Regions from separate parts of the Homo sapiens genome. Here region 1 is linked to region 2. Evidence: promoter capture Hi-C in human tissues and cell types (Jung and others, 2019). All regions are on one chromosome and are shown on one strand. Each heading gives the region's core, a stretch centred on a gene start or on the middle of the fragment in contact. The rest is flanking DNA. Distances are from core to core; before and after follow the strand shown. Region 1 has its middle 42 kb from the start of SYT14. Region 2 holds the start of SERTAD4 (SERTA domain containing 4).

Region 1 (7,618 bases), core at 3,668-6,167, 340 kb after region 2:
AGCTTGGCTCATAGTAGTTGCTCAGTAAATGAGTTGTGATTATTACCATGGGGAAGACTGAAGGCAGAGAGACCTGTGAAGACATTTTCAGTAGCACAGACTTAAGCTTTCTGCACTATGAACTATGCTGATGGTAGCAGGAATAAAAATAGTAGGATAGATAGATGTAAGAGACCTTTGAAAGAGAGAGTCAAAAGAACTCAATGACTGTATATATACATATGTATACATACACACACATATATATATATGTTGATTCCTATGGCGGATGAAGGAAAGGGAGAAATCATCAAATCAGCAATGATGCCTGATTCAAATGGACCTTTCTAGTGGCTTTGGGCCAGCCTAAAAAGATAACTCCAGTAATCAAAGTACATTAAGTGCTTAATAATTGTTTCCTGGATGTTTGTTGAATGCACGTTAAACCATTGTTAAGGTACTGTTTTGAGAGGTGACAGCGTGCTGGCAGTCCTCAGAGCCCTCGCTTGCTCTCGGCACCTCCCCTGCCTGGGCTCCCACTTTGGCGGCATTTGAGGAGCCCTTCAGCCCCCCCACTGCACTGTGGGAGCCCCTTTCTGGGCTGGCCAAGGCTGGAGCCCACTCCCTCAGCTTGCAGGGAGGTGTGGAGGGAGAGGCACGAGCGGGAACCCGGGCTGCGTGCGGCGCTTGCAGGCCAGCTGGAGTTCCGGGTGGGCGTGGGCTTGGTGGGCTCCACACTCGGAGCAGCCAGCCAGCCTTGCTGGCCCCGGGCAATGCGGGACTTAGCATCCGGGCCAGTGGCTGCGGAGGGTGTACTGAGTCCCCCAGCAGTGCCGGCCCACCAGCGCTGTGCTCGATTTCTTACCGGGCCTTAGCTGCCTTCCCGTGGGGCAGGGCTTGGGACCTGCAGCCCACCATGCCTGAGCCTCCCACCCACTCCATGGGCTCCTGTGCGGCCCCAGCCTCCCCGACGAGCACCAACCCCTGCTCCACGGTGCCCAGTCCCATCGACCACCCAAGGGCTGAGGAATGCGAGCGCACGGCGCAGGACTGGCAGGCAGTCCACCTGCAGCCCCGGTGCGGGATCCACTAGGTGAAGCCAGCTGGGCTCCTGAGTCTGGTGGGGACGTGGAGAGTCTTTATATCTAGCTCAGGGATTGTAAATACACCAATCAGCACCCTGTGTTTAGCTCAAGGTTTGTGAGTGCACCAATCAATACTCTGTATCTAGCTGCTCTGGTGGGGCCCTGGAGAACGTGTGTGTCAAAACTCTGTATCTAACTAATCTGATGGGGAGGTGGAGAACCTTTGTATCTAGCTCAGGGATTGTAAAAGCACCAGTCAGCAGCCTGACAAAACAGGCCACTCAGCTCTACCAATCAGCAGGATGTGGGTGGGGCCAGATAAGAGAATAAAAGCAGGCTGACCGAGCCAGCATTGGCAACCCGCTGGGGTCCCCTTCCACACTGTGGAAGCTGTGTTCTTTTGCCCTTTGCAATAAATCTTGCTACTGCTCACTCTTTGGGTCCACGTTGCTTTTATGAGCTGTAACACTCATCGCGAAGATCTGCAGCTTCACTCCTGAACCCAGCGAGACCACGAACCCACCAGGAGGAACGAACAACTCCAGACACCCTGCCTTAAGAGCTGTAACACTCACCGCAAAGGTCTGCAGCTTCACTTCTGAGCCAGCAAGACCACTGAACCCACCAGAAGGAAGAAACTCCGAACACATCTGAACATCAGAAGGGACAGACTCCAGACGCGCCACCTTAAGAGCTGTAACACTCACCGCGAGGGTCCACGGCTTCATTCTTGAAGTCTGTGAGACCAAGAACCCATCAATTCCGGACACAGTTGTAAATATACTAAATCATAAATTGTTAACTCACTAACTTACTTTTGCTAAATGTATGACAGATCGTGGTGAATCTGGTATACATGTACCCTGTTGGTGGTACAGTAAATTAATACAGCTCTTTTGATAAACACTATATAGGCTAGTTATCAAAAGTGATTTAAATGCTTACTGCTTTTGACTCAGTAATTTAAAAACTGAAATTCATAGGAAGAAGTTGAGAATATGGTACCTCTATGACTTTAGATGATCAACATAGAGGCAGCTACTACTGATCTCATGAAGTGTCCTTTGGCAACAAAATTGGCTTGATCCAAAATGCTAAGTTTGATGTACTCTTGTGCTTATTTTTTGCCGAGTCCTGCAAATGAACCAATAGGCATTTTGAAATCGAGAGTTACGTAGCCACTCTAACAGAAGGCGCCCTTCCTGTAGCTTGGCTATGTAATGACTGCCTTGTAATTTACAAGTCATATGGGTTCTGTCCGCTAAGTTGTACGCTCTTCCAGAAACATTGTGAGCAACCCACTTTAAAAAAATCCCTGAATGACCCGGGCTCCACCCCTCACAACTCTTTAGCTTTAGGCTTGCTCTGTCTCTTTCCTCCTCTTGCCCTGCTATGCTTCCTTCGCTTCTCTCTTACAACCTTAGCAAAGTGTTTCTGCTCACAAGACCACCAGCTTCAGCACAGCATGGACGCCTCTAATTCAAAACTCCGTCCTGATACATTGTGAACACTATTTTAGTGGTTGTTTGCAAGCCTCTGTTGACACTTATGAAAAAGTAGGTCAAAGGAGTAGAAATGCATGCAGCAATCACTCAGTATGGCCCAAATAATGCCACTAAAAAAATCTGTACAGTCATGATGTTTAAAAATATTTCTCAAATTATACTGATGGTATGGGGGTGAAGTCTGGCAAATTTACTTCTCCTTCTATCCTTGCCTCAGATTCACATCCTCCACGTCTTGTCACCTTCTCCCCAAAGCCTTCCCTGTCCTCTTTAGATTGTTAGAGAAGCACTGTCTCTATGTTCCCTCAGTACACCTAATATTGAACATACCTTTATTATAGCATTTCTTCTTCTGAAGTAATGATGCTTACATGGTTGTGTCCTCTTCTACACTGTATCTCAAGGTGGCATACATTAGGTACTTAATGAGTGTTTGCTGAATGTTTGTTGAATGAATTTATCTCCTTGTGTAATGCTAACCCTCATCAGCTTCCAATTATCCACGCTAATGGAAGGGAAGAGAGGTTTAGGATGATGTGAAATAATTGACAGTTCTAAAATCTGAGATCCCTGATTCAAAAGGCTTGTGTACTCAATAATGCAGTCACACACACACAAACAGCCATGCAGCTAGGAAGGTTTTAGAGGAAGAAGTCAACTGATTCAAATCCTCTCCAGGGTGGATTCGCAAGTCATGGGAAACAGTAAAACTGATGTGTTGGGTTTGCTCTGCCAGAATGCCTTTGCACCAGATACCCTGCATACCCTGTGGTCAAATGTCTTTTCCTGTCATAGCTACAAGCCAACAGCTCCATTGCATTAAAATTGCAGGTAGTTAGTTATATCCTATATGCTTTGACGTCAGTTTAATGCTAGGGCACGTAGAAATAAGGGTGAAGAGGGTAAGCTGGTCTTTGTCCTTGGGGAGGGCCTTGAGTACCATGCTCAATAATGTGAGTTTGAGGAGCCAGTGAAGGTATCCGAGTAAGAGAGCAATATTCATATAAGTGGTTATTGAAGATCCTTGGGTGGCAATGTGAAATGTGGATCTGAGGCAGGAGGAAGATCAGTTGGGAAGGGGTTCAGAGAACAAGTAAAGAAGAAAATCCTGAAATGGAAGTGAGACAGAGCAGGGACCCCTTTTAGGATCCTGCCTTCCCACCCCCAACCCAAGCATGGGAATAAAGGAAAATCTTGAGTTTCTTCAAGGGAAATTCCAGGCACCTAGCTAGCCTTGAGAAATAAATGAGTAATCTAATAGCTTAAAACAATAGCCAAGAAAGTTAGAGTCACAGGATGTTTGGTTCTCTAGAGAAACTAAAGATAACATCTTAACATACCTCGTCCCTGAGTTGTTTTTCAGAAACCTGGACCCGCCCCTACCTTCCCCCGCACCCCACCAAATGGAAAATACTGTCTGCTGGCATGTAGACCTCAAACGGGAGAACTGAGGACTGAACTCTATCATTCTTTGTTCTAAATTTCTTCCTGAGGGCCCTGGAGAAAGTCATGCCCACATGCTAGATCTTAACATTCTTTTCTTCCAACCCCAAATGTTTAGACAAAGCTTTGCTTCCTTAGTGAATTGCAAACCAGAGAGTCTTTGAATCCACCTGTGACCTGTAAAGCCCCAATTCGAGATATACCACCTTTTTAGGCCAAACCAATATATAACCTCCATGTATTGATTTACCATTTTGCTTGTGATTTCTGATTTCCTGAAATTTATCTCAGCCTTTGAAAAAACCTTGCTTGAGGCTGGGCACGGTGGCTCATACCTGTAATCCCAGCACTTCGGGAGGCCAAGGTGGGAGGGTCGCTTAAGCCCAGGAGTTCAAGACCAGCCTGAACAACATGGTGAAACCGGTTTCCATTTCTACTAAAAATACAAAATTAGTCGGGCGATAGTGGTGCATGCCTGTAATCCCAGCTACTCTGGAGGCTGAGGCAGGAGAATCGCTTGAGCCTGGGAGGTGGAGGTTGCAGTGAGCTGAGATCACACTACTGCACACGCTGAACGTGGATGACAGAGTGAGACCCTGTCTCAAAACAAACAAACAAACAAACAACAACAAAACAACAACAACAAAAAGCCTTGCTTGTAAGCCATCAAGTAGGTCAGGTCTGAAGTGTAAACTGCCAGATTCTCCTTGTTTGGGGCCCTGCAAATAAACATCCTCCTTTCTTTTGCTGCAAAACCTCAGGGTGGATGTTTAGCTTTACTGCACAGCATAAGCAAATCCATGTTTGGTTCAGTAAGAGAAGCGGGGAGCATCCTCCTTTGAGGCAGAAAGGGAAAAGTGAAGGATTAGTGATAAAGCACAGTGAGTCCAGGGAAGCTGACAGGCTTCATATGATGCGCGGTTAAGAGGGGAACGTTAAGGGAGGAACACATAAGGTTTCATCTTTCGGAGAGCACTTTGTTTTGAAACTGGCATTGTGGGGAATTTTAATGGTGAGCTGAAGTCAGCACGATTTGTGATTTTTATCCAGCAAGAACTGTGACCTTAACAATTCCATCTAGAGGCATCTGCTTTGAAAAAAAAATGGAAGAAGGGAAAGGGCATTGCTGTGGGACCAGAGGTGATTGCTGGCGGCTTCTCCGCTTACCTCATTAAAATGCCTCTTTGCTTCTCTTGATCTCTTTTCCCCTTTAAACCACTTTGCAAGAGCTGAGATCTGTATTCAACACTCATTAATTCGATTCATAATTATAGAGTACCTAATATGTACATTATTCAAGGTGCTGGGGTTAAAGCAATGAGCAAATCACATTAGGGAACAAATTCTACTCTCAGGGAATTTATATTCTATTTGGGGAAACAAACAATAGAGAGGTAAATAATAGTAATTCTAGACATTGATTAGTACAATAGAGAAAGTAGCCTGGATGCGGGGCTCACACCTGTAGTCCCAGCACTTTGGGAGTCCGAGGCAGGTGGATTGCTTGAGCTCAGGAATTCAAGACCAGCCTGGCCAACATGGCAAAACCCCGTTTCTACTAAAAACACAAAAATTAGCCGGGCGTGGTGGCACATGCCTATAGTCCCAGCTACTCAGGAGACTGAGGCATGAAAATCACTTGAACCCAGGAAGCCGGGAAAGGGAGGCTGCAGTGAGCTGAGATTGTGCCACTGCACTCCAGCCTGGGCGACAGAGTGGGACCCTGTCTCAAAAAAAATTTCAAAAAAAAAAAAAAGTAAAGTAAATCAGGGCAATGGGACAGATGTGGATGAGGCACCATTCAAGCCTGTGGTCAGGGAAGACTTTTCTGAGAAGACAACAGCTGAGCTGAGATCAGAGACAAGAAGCTCCAGTGTGTGAAAACCCAAGGCAAGGTCCTTTTGGCTTTTGGGCAGAGGGAACAAGTGTAATGGTTCTGAAGTGGGAACAAACTTAGAGCATTTGAGGAGCAGCAAGAGAACCAGTGTGGTTGAGTTGCAGTAAGCAACGCGGGAGCGGGCAGATGAGTTTGGAGACGCAGGAAGCAGGAAAATGTGGTAGCCAGAGTGCTGGCTGAGGCAGTAGAAGATTGCATTCTCCTGCAAAGATTTCCCCTGTGACCCAAGGACACTCGCCCTGGGTCTCAGCTTCTTGTTACAAGATGAGAGGCCTGGGCAAGATGATAGGAACTCTAGCCTGCCCAAGAAAGAGAAGTACTTAATGCTGTTTATTTAAAAGATGAATCTTTAAGGCTTTTGCAGCCTATGTTCTATGCTTATCAGGGCTCTCTGCAACCTAGCTCCAGGTTCCATAACAGCATGTTTCTCTACCTTTGGGATTCTTTAGTTGGGCTGTTCTTTTCCCTGTTCCCAGAATACCACAGACCCATGGAAGGGTTGATATTGCAGTTTTGAGTCTGAAAGAAATCTGAAGGCAGAATTTCTTCTTCCTCAGGGAACCTCAGTCTTTTTTCTTTTTTTTTTTTTTAATTTATTTTTTGAGACAGTCTCGCTTTGTCACCCAGGCTGGAGTGCAGTGGTGCAATCTTGGCTCATTGCAACCTCTGCCTCCTGGGTTCAAGTGATTCTCCTGCCTCACCCTTCTGAGTAGCTGGGACTACAGACATGTGCCACCACACCCGGCTCATTTTTGTTTTTGTTTTTTTTTAGTATAGACAGGGTTTTGCCATGTTGGCCAGGCTGGTCTTGAACTCCTGACCTCAAGTGATCCACCCGCTTTGAGTCTTTTCTCTTAAAATCTTCAATTGATTGGATGAGACCCACCCACATTATGGAGGGCAATCTGCTTAACTCAAACTTTACTTATCTAAGTGTTATCACATCTAAAAAATACCTTCACAGCAACATATAGACTAGTGTTTGACCAAACAACTGGGTACCATAGCCTAGCTGGGTTGACACATAAAATCAACCAGCACAATGAATCTTCCTTCACTATACTCAGCACAAGTCCACTGTGTGCAGGGAGCACTTGATGAATAGTTAACTAAAGGGCTGTAATTAGTGCTGTACATCCATTCATTCAGCAAACACTATGTTTAATGAGCACCTACTTTGGGCCAGGCTCTGTTCCAAGAGCTGGGCAAATGGCAGTGAACAAGACTGATAATGATTAAGTCTATTTTTTATTCATGTGCTTTGGCATCTTATAGATCCAGTGTGAACAGTTTTTGTTGTTGTTTTTATTATTTTGTTTTGTTGGCTGATGTAGAAAAGTTATCATAAGCATAATCCCTTTGTAGGTCTACTCATTAAAGCTGTCAGAGTAGGATTCTTAAAAAAAAAAAAAAAAAAAAAGAGGTTAGATAATTTGCTTAATTGCATTAAAGTACAGTTGGCCTTCCATATCCGTGAGTTCTGTATCCATGGATTCAATCAACCACAGGTAGAAAATAATTTGGAAAAAGATATTGCATCTGTACCAAACATGTACAGACCATTTTTCTTTGTCATTATTCCCTAAAAACAACTACTTACATAGCATTTACATTGTATTAAGTATTATAAGTAACCTGGAGTTGATTTAAAGTATACAGGAGAATGTGCATAGATTATAAGCAAATACTAGACTATTTTTTACCAGGGA
Region 2 (7,244 bases), core at 1,592-4,091:
TCCAGCATATCCTATTATGCACGTGAACTTGAAACATGGCATAACAGTATTTATCTTGGCTATTATTTTGTTCACAATATCTAATTTTACTAAGTTTTTCTTTTTTAAATTGAGAACTGTTACACACAAAACCCTAAACTAGAGAGGCTGAGTTCTGCAAGTGATTTATGTAAATCTGAATAAAACATGAATGAGTTGGGATTATTTGGGAGCGGGGAGGAGATTTTGCAATTGAGTCTTCCTAGTCTATTTAAAACTTACACTGGATGTTAACAAATTAAGAAGGCAAGTTGAATGTTCACGAAAAATTGGACAGGGCAGCGTTAAGCACAAATGCTTAACGTGAATCTTTCTTCGTATTATATGTAGAGATCTAAACTGTCATAATTCTCTGTCTGATAAGATTTATAATTCTGCTACTGACGTCAGCAATTCAAGTCCACAAATTCGTGTTCTATTAATATTAAATAAAGAAAAGGATATACATTATGGCAAAATTTATTTTCTAAGATCAGAGGTGATGGATTCAACAGGAGGGTGTTAGAGTGTGTTTTGTCTATGCATGGGTTTAAAAGATAAGAAAAAAAAAAGCCCTAACCCTTCATCCTCAGGCTCCTGAATGTCTGTTTTGACACCCAGGTGGATGTAGTGGAATGACACTTCCAGCATCCCCAGAAGACTGAGGGCTAGAATGCCAAGCTTTTCCAGCAAATGTTCGTAGTAAAGTTACCAGGCATTTCTATACAATTTGTTTTTTTCCAGATGAGTTGGGCTTGTTCTTTCCTAGAAGCAATTATGATGCTAATAGGAGTGGCTGGCACACAAAACAGGGTAGCTATGAATTCAGCGGCACCTTGAATCTAACAAGGGGCTCCAGGTCATTCTTTGCTCACTTCTTCTTCCATCTGTCATTGAAAATTGGAGAGCATTTGATTAAGATCATTATAGCAGTTAGCAGTCTGATTCCAGCACTGGAAAGCAGGGAAGTAAAGGGCTATTTCCACCCCCGATCGATGCTGCCAGTTTTAAATGGCATCAAGCCCCTGACCTCCACATTGTCCCAAAATGATCTCAATAGCTTGTCCGGCTCCTGGTGGTGGTAGTGGAAGGGACTGGATGGGCGGAACAAAATTCTTCAACCCTTCTAAACAAACAGATGTCGCTTTTCTGCCGTTCCTGCAGTACACCTGTCTGCCCTGGGAAGTACATTTCTCAGCTGCAGCCCCGCGAGGCCAAGAGCTTGAAGCTGGGTCCTGTGGTTGGGGCTGCAGGTGCTGGGCCTAAAGAGCACGAAGGGGTGCTCCGATGCCCGAGCCCTGGTGCCCAAGGTGTGTGTGTGTGTGGCGGTTGCGGGGGTGGGGTCCGAGGTTTGGAGGGCCGACCTCTTGAAGGCGGGCGGCAGCCACCAACCACATCCTGGCTCCCGCACAGACACACCCCCGGGGTGTCGGTGCCGCAGCCCTCAGCCCCTCCCCGGGTAGCCAGCAGCGCCCGGTCGGCCGCTGGCCGCAGGAGAAAGTAAACAACACCCCAAGTGTCCGGGAACAAAGGCAAGTTGTCTTTCTACGGTGCCGCAGCCGTGTGCCTCTTCTGAAGAATAAGAGCTATTATTATTCTTTATGTCTTATCCTTTTTTTTTTTTAAAAAAAAAACCAAGTTTCCTTCTAAGGGAAATAAACACCAAAGGTAGGATTCCAAGGAAATGACTCACAGCGGCTGGCAGGGCTCTGGCGGGGCTGGCCCGGGCCCCCGCGCTCCAGCCCGCAGCAGATGTCGGCCCGGCCTTCCCTCCCTCCCTTGCCGGCCAAACCCGCTGGAAGCCCGCGGTTGCGGGAGCGCCCTGCGCCCGTGGGACCTGGCGGCGAGGACGCCTATTCCCTGCTTCTGCGACCACAGCTGGGCACTCGGAAAGTTGCTAGGGCCGAAGAGGCGGGAGGGGAGGAAGGGAAGCGAGAGGCGGAGGCGTGGACCAGGCGGGCAGCAGCCTCAGCCCGCCGAGGAGGTGAGCTGAGGACAGAGGAGCCGCCGCCGCCCGCAGCGCAGCTCTGCTGCCTGGGAGGAGGGTGCGGGGGCGGAGGTGGCGGGGGACAGAAGGTGTCAGCTACTGCATCAATTCCTTTTTCTTGCAAACGCGCGCTCCTGACATCCACAATCCCTCTCTCCCCACCTGCCAAGCGCCGCGGCATCCGGACCTGGGGGCACCCCTCCTACTTAACCCCTTCCCCTACGATGAGGGACTAAGCGGCCACGGAGGACCATGAGGTCTCACCAGAGCTTCTGACCCCACCCGCCCCTGGAGTTGTCTCGGTGCGCGCGGGTGGCAGCCCGAGCAGCCCTAGAGGAGGCGGCGGTTCCCGCCCTGGTGAAGGCGCCGCGGCGCACGCTAGCCCAGGGAAAAGCCCGCGCCGCCTCCGCGCCCAGCTGTGCCTTGGCCCCCACGCCGCCCCGACTCCGCTCCGGCCGCTGCGAGTCCACTCGGTGACCTCGGCACAGCCCTGGTGCCAAGAGGGCGCGCGGGAGGCCGCGTGGGTGCCCGTCTGCGAGGGCAGGAGCCCCGGGGGGCCCTCGCCCTCCACCCTGCCCGGCCCTCCCGCCCCCGCGGCCCGCGCCCAGCCCGGCTCTTACCGCGGGGTCAGCGGGGAGGCGGCGGCCGCAGCGCTTGAGCTGCTGCTGGTCCGCTCTGGGCTCGGCGCCAGCCCGGCCGCCGGTGCACACTCGCGGGTCCCGGCCCGGCCGCCCGCTCGGCGGTGACTGCGGGTGCGCGGCGGGCAAGGGTCCCGGCAGGTCCCGCCGCCGCGACTGGGGCGCTGCGCCGCCGTCGCTGCAGACGGTTATGGTAATGAGCGGCTCTGTCTAGCGAGGAGCGTGTGAAACCCGTCAATCCTGTTTGCCATTTCCCCGTGGATTTCCGAGGAGAGGTTCTGCAGGATGCCCCCAGGGTGAGAGAGGGAACATGACAAGCGCGCCCGCTCTCCCTCCCTCCCTCTGCTCAGGCCGCCGCCGCCGCTCCTCAGGCTGCACACGGGGCGCCTTTCCCGCACCCCCACCCCAGCCCGCCCCCTGCCTCCTTCCCTGCTTCCCGCCCTCCCTCCTCCTTTTCCTCCCCTCCCCTCCCGGTGCCCGGGGACACGCGGGCCCAGCTCCAGCCCGCAGCCCAGACCCCACGCGCTCTCGGGCTCCCGCCCTAGCCCTGGGGGCTTGGCTCCAGCCGAATAATGTATTCACTCTGGAACCTTCCGAGATATCTTGTCTTTTTAAATTTGGTTTAGTTTTGTTGTTGTTGTGTGTGCGTGTGATTAAAAAAAAAATCTGTGCCTTTCCCACCCTTTGCAAAAGACTTTCTTCTCCTTTGCCACAGCAAACGGAGATGAGAAACAGATGTCTTTGCAGGACCAAACAGTTATTCTCCCTCGCCGCCCGCCCCCGCCCGTTTCCCTCCTGAGCTGCGTACGTATTAAAAAAAAAAAAAAAAGCAACCTTGGTCCTGCTGCAACTTGAATTGGCAACCCTTTCTGGGTGGGGAGCCTCCAGGGAAAACCTCCAGGAAATAAAAAGTAATACAAGAGATTGTCCTTGCTCAAGAGAATGTAATTTAAGCCTTGGAATCAGAATATTTTGCAAATAGTAATTTTCTCCTATAGTGGCCTCAGAGTTTATTTTTTAAAATCATTAATTCATAACTTCTGTCTAGGGACCCCTCCATAGTCGAGATGGGTCATTTCAGGTGTAATGAAGGCAGAGGCTTGGAAGGCATAGACCTAATAAAATCGGGAGAAGGCACCTGCACAAAAGTGTTACAAAGACTATAATGTTTGTTTACTGCCACTATACCAGATGTGCTAAATATAACACTTCTTTAAAACAGTGATCCTCCGACTGTGAAAAACCAGACCTCTGGCTGCCTGGCTCCCTAGGAATCAAGAAGACGCACAGACTGAAAATCAAGGGAGGAAGGAACAAGATCAAGGATGAGGATTAGCATCTGCAAATTGAACTCTATCTAATTTGCATGTTTATTTCTTAGAATTGTAATTAAATTTGTGTAATAAATGTTTTCCATTTCATTTGTACACTTAAAACTTGGGTGACTGACATGCAGTTAAGTGAATTTCCTTTTTTTAAAAGCAAATGTAGATTATTCAATAAAGCAGCAAACCAATATTAAACATAATTAGAACTAATTTGTTTTGAAGGTGTTTTTGTTGAACTTTGTACATTAAAGACTCTCAGAGGTTTTAAGGGTATTAGGAAGCTGAGAGATGGCAATTATGCTTAAAACAGATGAACCCAACAGCCTACCAAGAGCATTATTTCATTTTTTCCAAAAGACATTCCAGGGTTGCATGCCTAAAATTGGGAATTGGGCATCCATCTTGGCTTTATTCTGAACCATATTAAATTGCATTGGCTCATGCATGATGTGGGCCATTATGATGATAATTTAAGAATTGTAAAGATGCCATTTTGTGCAGTCAATGGAAGTTGCATGTCCAGGTTAAGAGTAGAGTATAATTTTCATCTGGGTGGGAGAGGAGGGTTAGGAAAGGCACAAGGGCATTTAAAGCAGTGCAAGTACGTAGAAATCCAAATTTCCAAATAATCTAAAACTGGTTATTGTCAAACTCAAAAGAACTAAATGTGAGGGTTTGGAGGCATGGCTTATTATGGTTTTTATCTCCCTATATTAAAGTTTTATGGCATTTAAAGGACTATGGGTAAATCCCCATGTACACTTGGCTGTGTGAAAATACATAAAATCAAAAGGAGCAAATTAAGCATAAAATTGAGAAATAACATGAGACTAAGTTATCAGCATGGGTGCACTGGCATCTTTGGAGCTTTGGCTCGGAGAAATGAGCCTTCTGGGAAACTGGCATTGCCCTTGGGTGGAGAAGACTCTTGGCTTTAATGTTACAACAAAATGGTATCACAAGTATCAAATCATTGTACTTCACAGCATCCTTGCAGTTCTGAGTATGAACTAGACCCTGTCCTCATCAGATACATTAGGTTAGCATGTTTTACTGACAGCTTTCCCTGCCCTACCTTTAATCCTAAGCTTAATGTTTTTTGAGATTCAATACCCAACTGTTGACAACATGAACCTGTGTCTACAAGTACAAGAGGCAGACAAATGTCTATGGAATGAGAAACCTCATTACAAATTTAAGGTGACTATGTGGTAGCTATGGCATGAAAAAAGAACCAACTATAAATCAATAATGAAAAATTTGGAATGAGTAATTGTTATTTATAATGAGGTACAATATTTAATTGACAACTATGATGTCATCATTTTGGGGTGTGTGTGTGTGTGTATGTGTGTGTGTGTGTGAGAAGCTCCAAATAGAAGTTTGATTATAAAACTTATAATACTTTGAGCTGCAAATTTACTGAAGGCAGTGGTTGTTTTCCTTTGTTTAACAAAGAGACTTTCAGACTTAAAATTGCTGAAACCCATTTCACAAAACCTTTTTGTCATTTGTCTGATAGGGGGATTTCACAAGTAAAATTTGACTTATTCAGATTGTTGTGGACACAATACCCACTTGGATTAATTGAAAGTTAAAATTACTGGCTTAAAAAAATAGACCATTTTTGGCTGGGTACGGTGGCTCACGCCTATAATCCCAGCACTTTGGGAGGCCAAGGCGGGTGGATCACCTGAGGTCAGGAGTTTGAGACCAGCCTGACCAACACGGCGAAACCCCGCCTCTACTAAAAATACAAAAAATTAGCTGAGCATGGTGGCAGGCGCCTGTAATCCAGCTACTCAGGAGGCTGAGGCAGGAGAATAGCTTGAACCCAGGAGGCAGAGGTTGCAGTGAGCCAAGATCGCACCACTGCACTCCAGCCTGGGTGCAACAGAGCAAGAATCCATCAAAAAAACAAACAGCAACAATAAAAAAAAAAAAAACATTTTTTTAATGGCAAAAAGAAGCATCTGCACCCAATTCCTCTTCTATTCTCAAACCTTTTCCACTGAGGCTTTCTTATCCGATCACTCCATTGAAACTGTTCTGGTCAATGTCACCACTGACCTCCACGTTGTTAAATCCAAAGGCCATTTTGCATCTAACTTGACCCTTAAGCAGCATTTGACCCAGTTGCCCACTCCCTCCTCCTTTAAACGCCTTTATCTTGGCTCCTGGGACAACACATCCACCTGATTTGCCTCCTGCCTCACTGGTTGTTCCTCTCAGTCTCCTTTGCTGGTTCCCCCTCTTATCTAGGACCTCTGGATGTTGGGTTGCCTCAAGCTCAGTCCTTGCACCTTGTCTCTTCTCTACAGTCACTCTCTTGTGGATCTCATCTAGTCTCTTCCCTTCAAAACTCTCTATATTCTGATGACTCCCAAATTCATATCTGTAGCCAAGACTCTCTTCTGACTTCCAGACTCTGTGTAGATGCCTAATGGGTATCACAAGCTTTACAGACCCAAAACTCAACCCCTATTATCTCTGCTTTCCCAACCTATGCCACCTTTAATAGTCTCCTTCAATAAACAACAGTATTTTTCTACTTGCTCTGACAAAACTCCTTAGAGTCATCATTGATTTTTTTTACTTCATCTCCTTTATCTAATATATCAGAAAGTCCTTGAGAGGCTACCTTTAAATTTTTTCTTGACTCGGCCAGGCGCGGTTGCTCATGCCTGTAATCCCAGCACTTTGGGAGACCGAGGGGGGTGAATCACGAGGTCAGGAGATTGAGACCATCCTGGCTAACATCATGAAACCCCCTCTCTATTAAAAGTACAAAAAAAAAAGTAGTCAGGCATGGTGGCATGCACCCGTTGTCCCAGCTACTTGGGAGGCTGAGTCAGGAGAATCTCTTGAACCTGGGAGGCGGAAGTTGCAGTGAGCCAAGATCGCACCACTGCACTCCAGCATGGGTGACAGAGTGAGACTCCATCTCAAAAAAAAAAAAAAAAATTTCTTGACTCTGATCACTTCTCATTATCTCTACCACCACCATTCTGGTCCACGCTTTCATCATGATCTTCTGCCTAGGATATGACAATGGCCTCCTAACTGGTCTTCCTGCTTACATCTTTGGCCCTCTTTCTAGTTCAATCTCGGGTCAACAGCAATGGTGTCAATTTTTGCCAAGGCTCTTCCTAGAGCTCCCCATTCAAAATAAAAGCCATGTTCTTGTAATAGCCTGCAAAGACTAGAAGTCTCTCTTTATTTCTCTGATCTCACTCTGCCTCCAACAACTCCAGCCACTCTGGCCTCCTTTCT

The links. The method cuts DNA at HindIII sites, captures the fragments that hold promoters and counts their contacts. A contact is called where the count stands out against the background at its distance.
Region 1: a contact is called between a fragment that was not itself captured here and the fragment with the promoter of SERTAD4 in region 2, in 1 of the 25 tissues and cell types used here (mesendoderm cells).

What each region holds. Positions count from the first base shown.
Region 1 is chr1:209,892,194-209,899,811 of GRCh38, reverse strand. No RefSeq gene overlaps it. Among named protein-coding and RNA genes, the nearest start is that of SYT14, 42 kb to the left of the region's middle. RefSeq lists enhancers at 793-1,320, 3,218-4,417. The HindIII fragment of the contact is 5,591 bases long and covers 2,122-7,618 here.
Region 2 is chr1:210,228,393-210,235,636 of GRCh38, reverse strand. SERTAD4 (SERTA domain containing 4) reads right to left here and starts at 2,841. Exons shown (of 4, transcript NM_019605.5): 1 at 2,626-2,841. SERTAD4-AS1 (SERTAD4 antisense RNA 1) reads left to right here and starts at 1,752. Exons shown (of 2, transcript NR_024337.2): 1 at 1,752-2,002; 2 at 3,866-4,181. RefSeq lists an enhancer at 2,430-2,963. The HindIII fragment of the contact is 6,882 bases long and covers 1-5,744 here.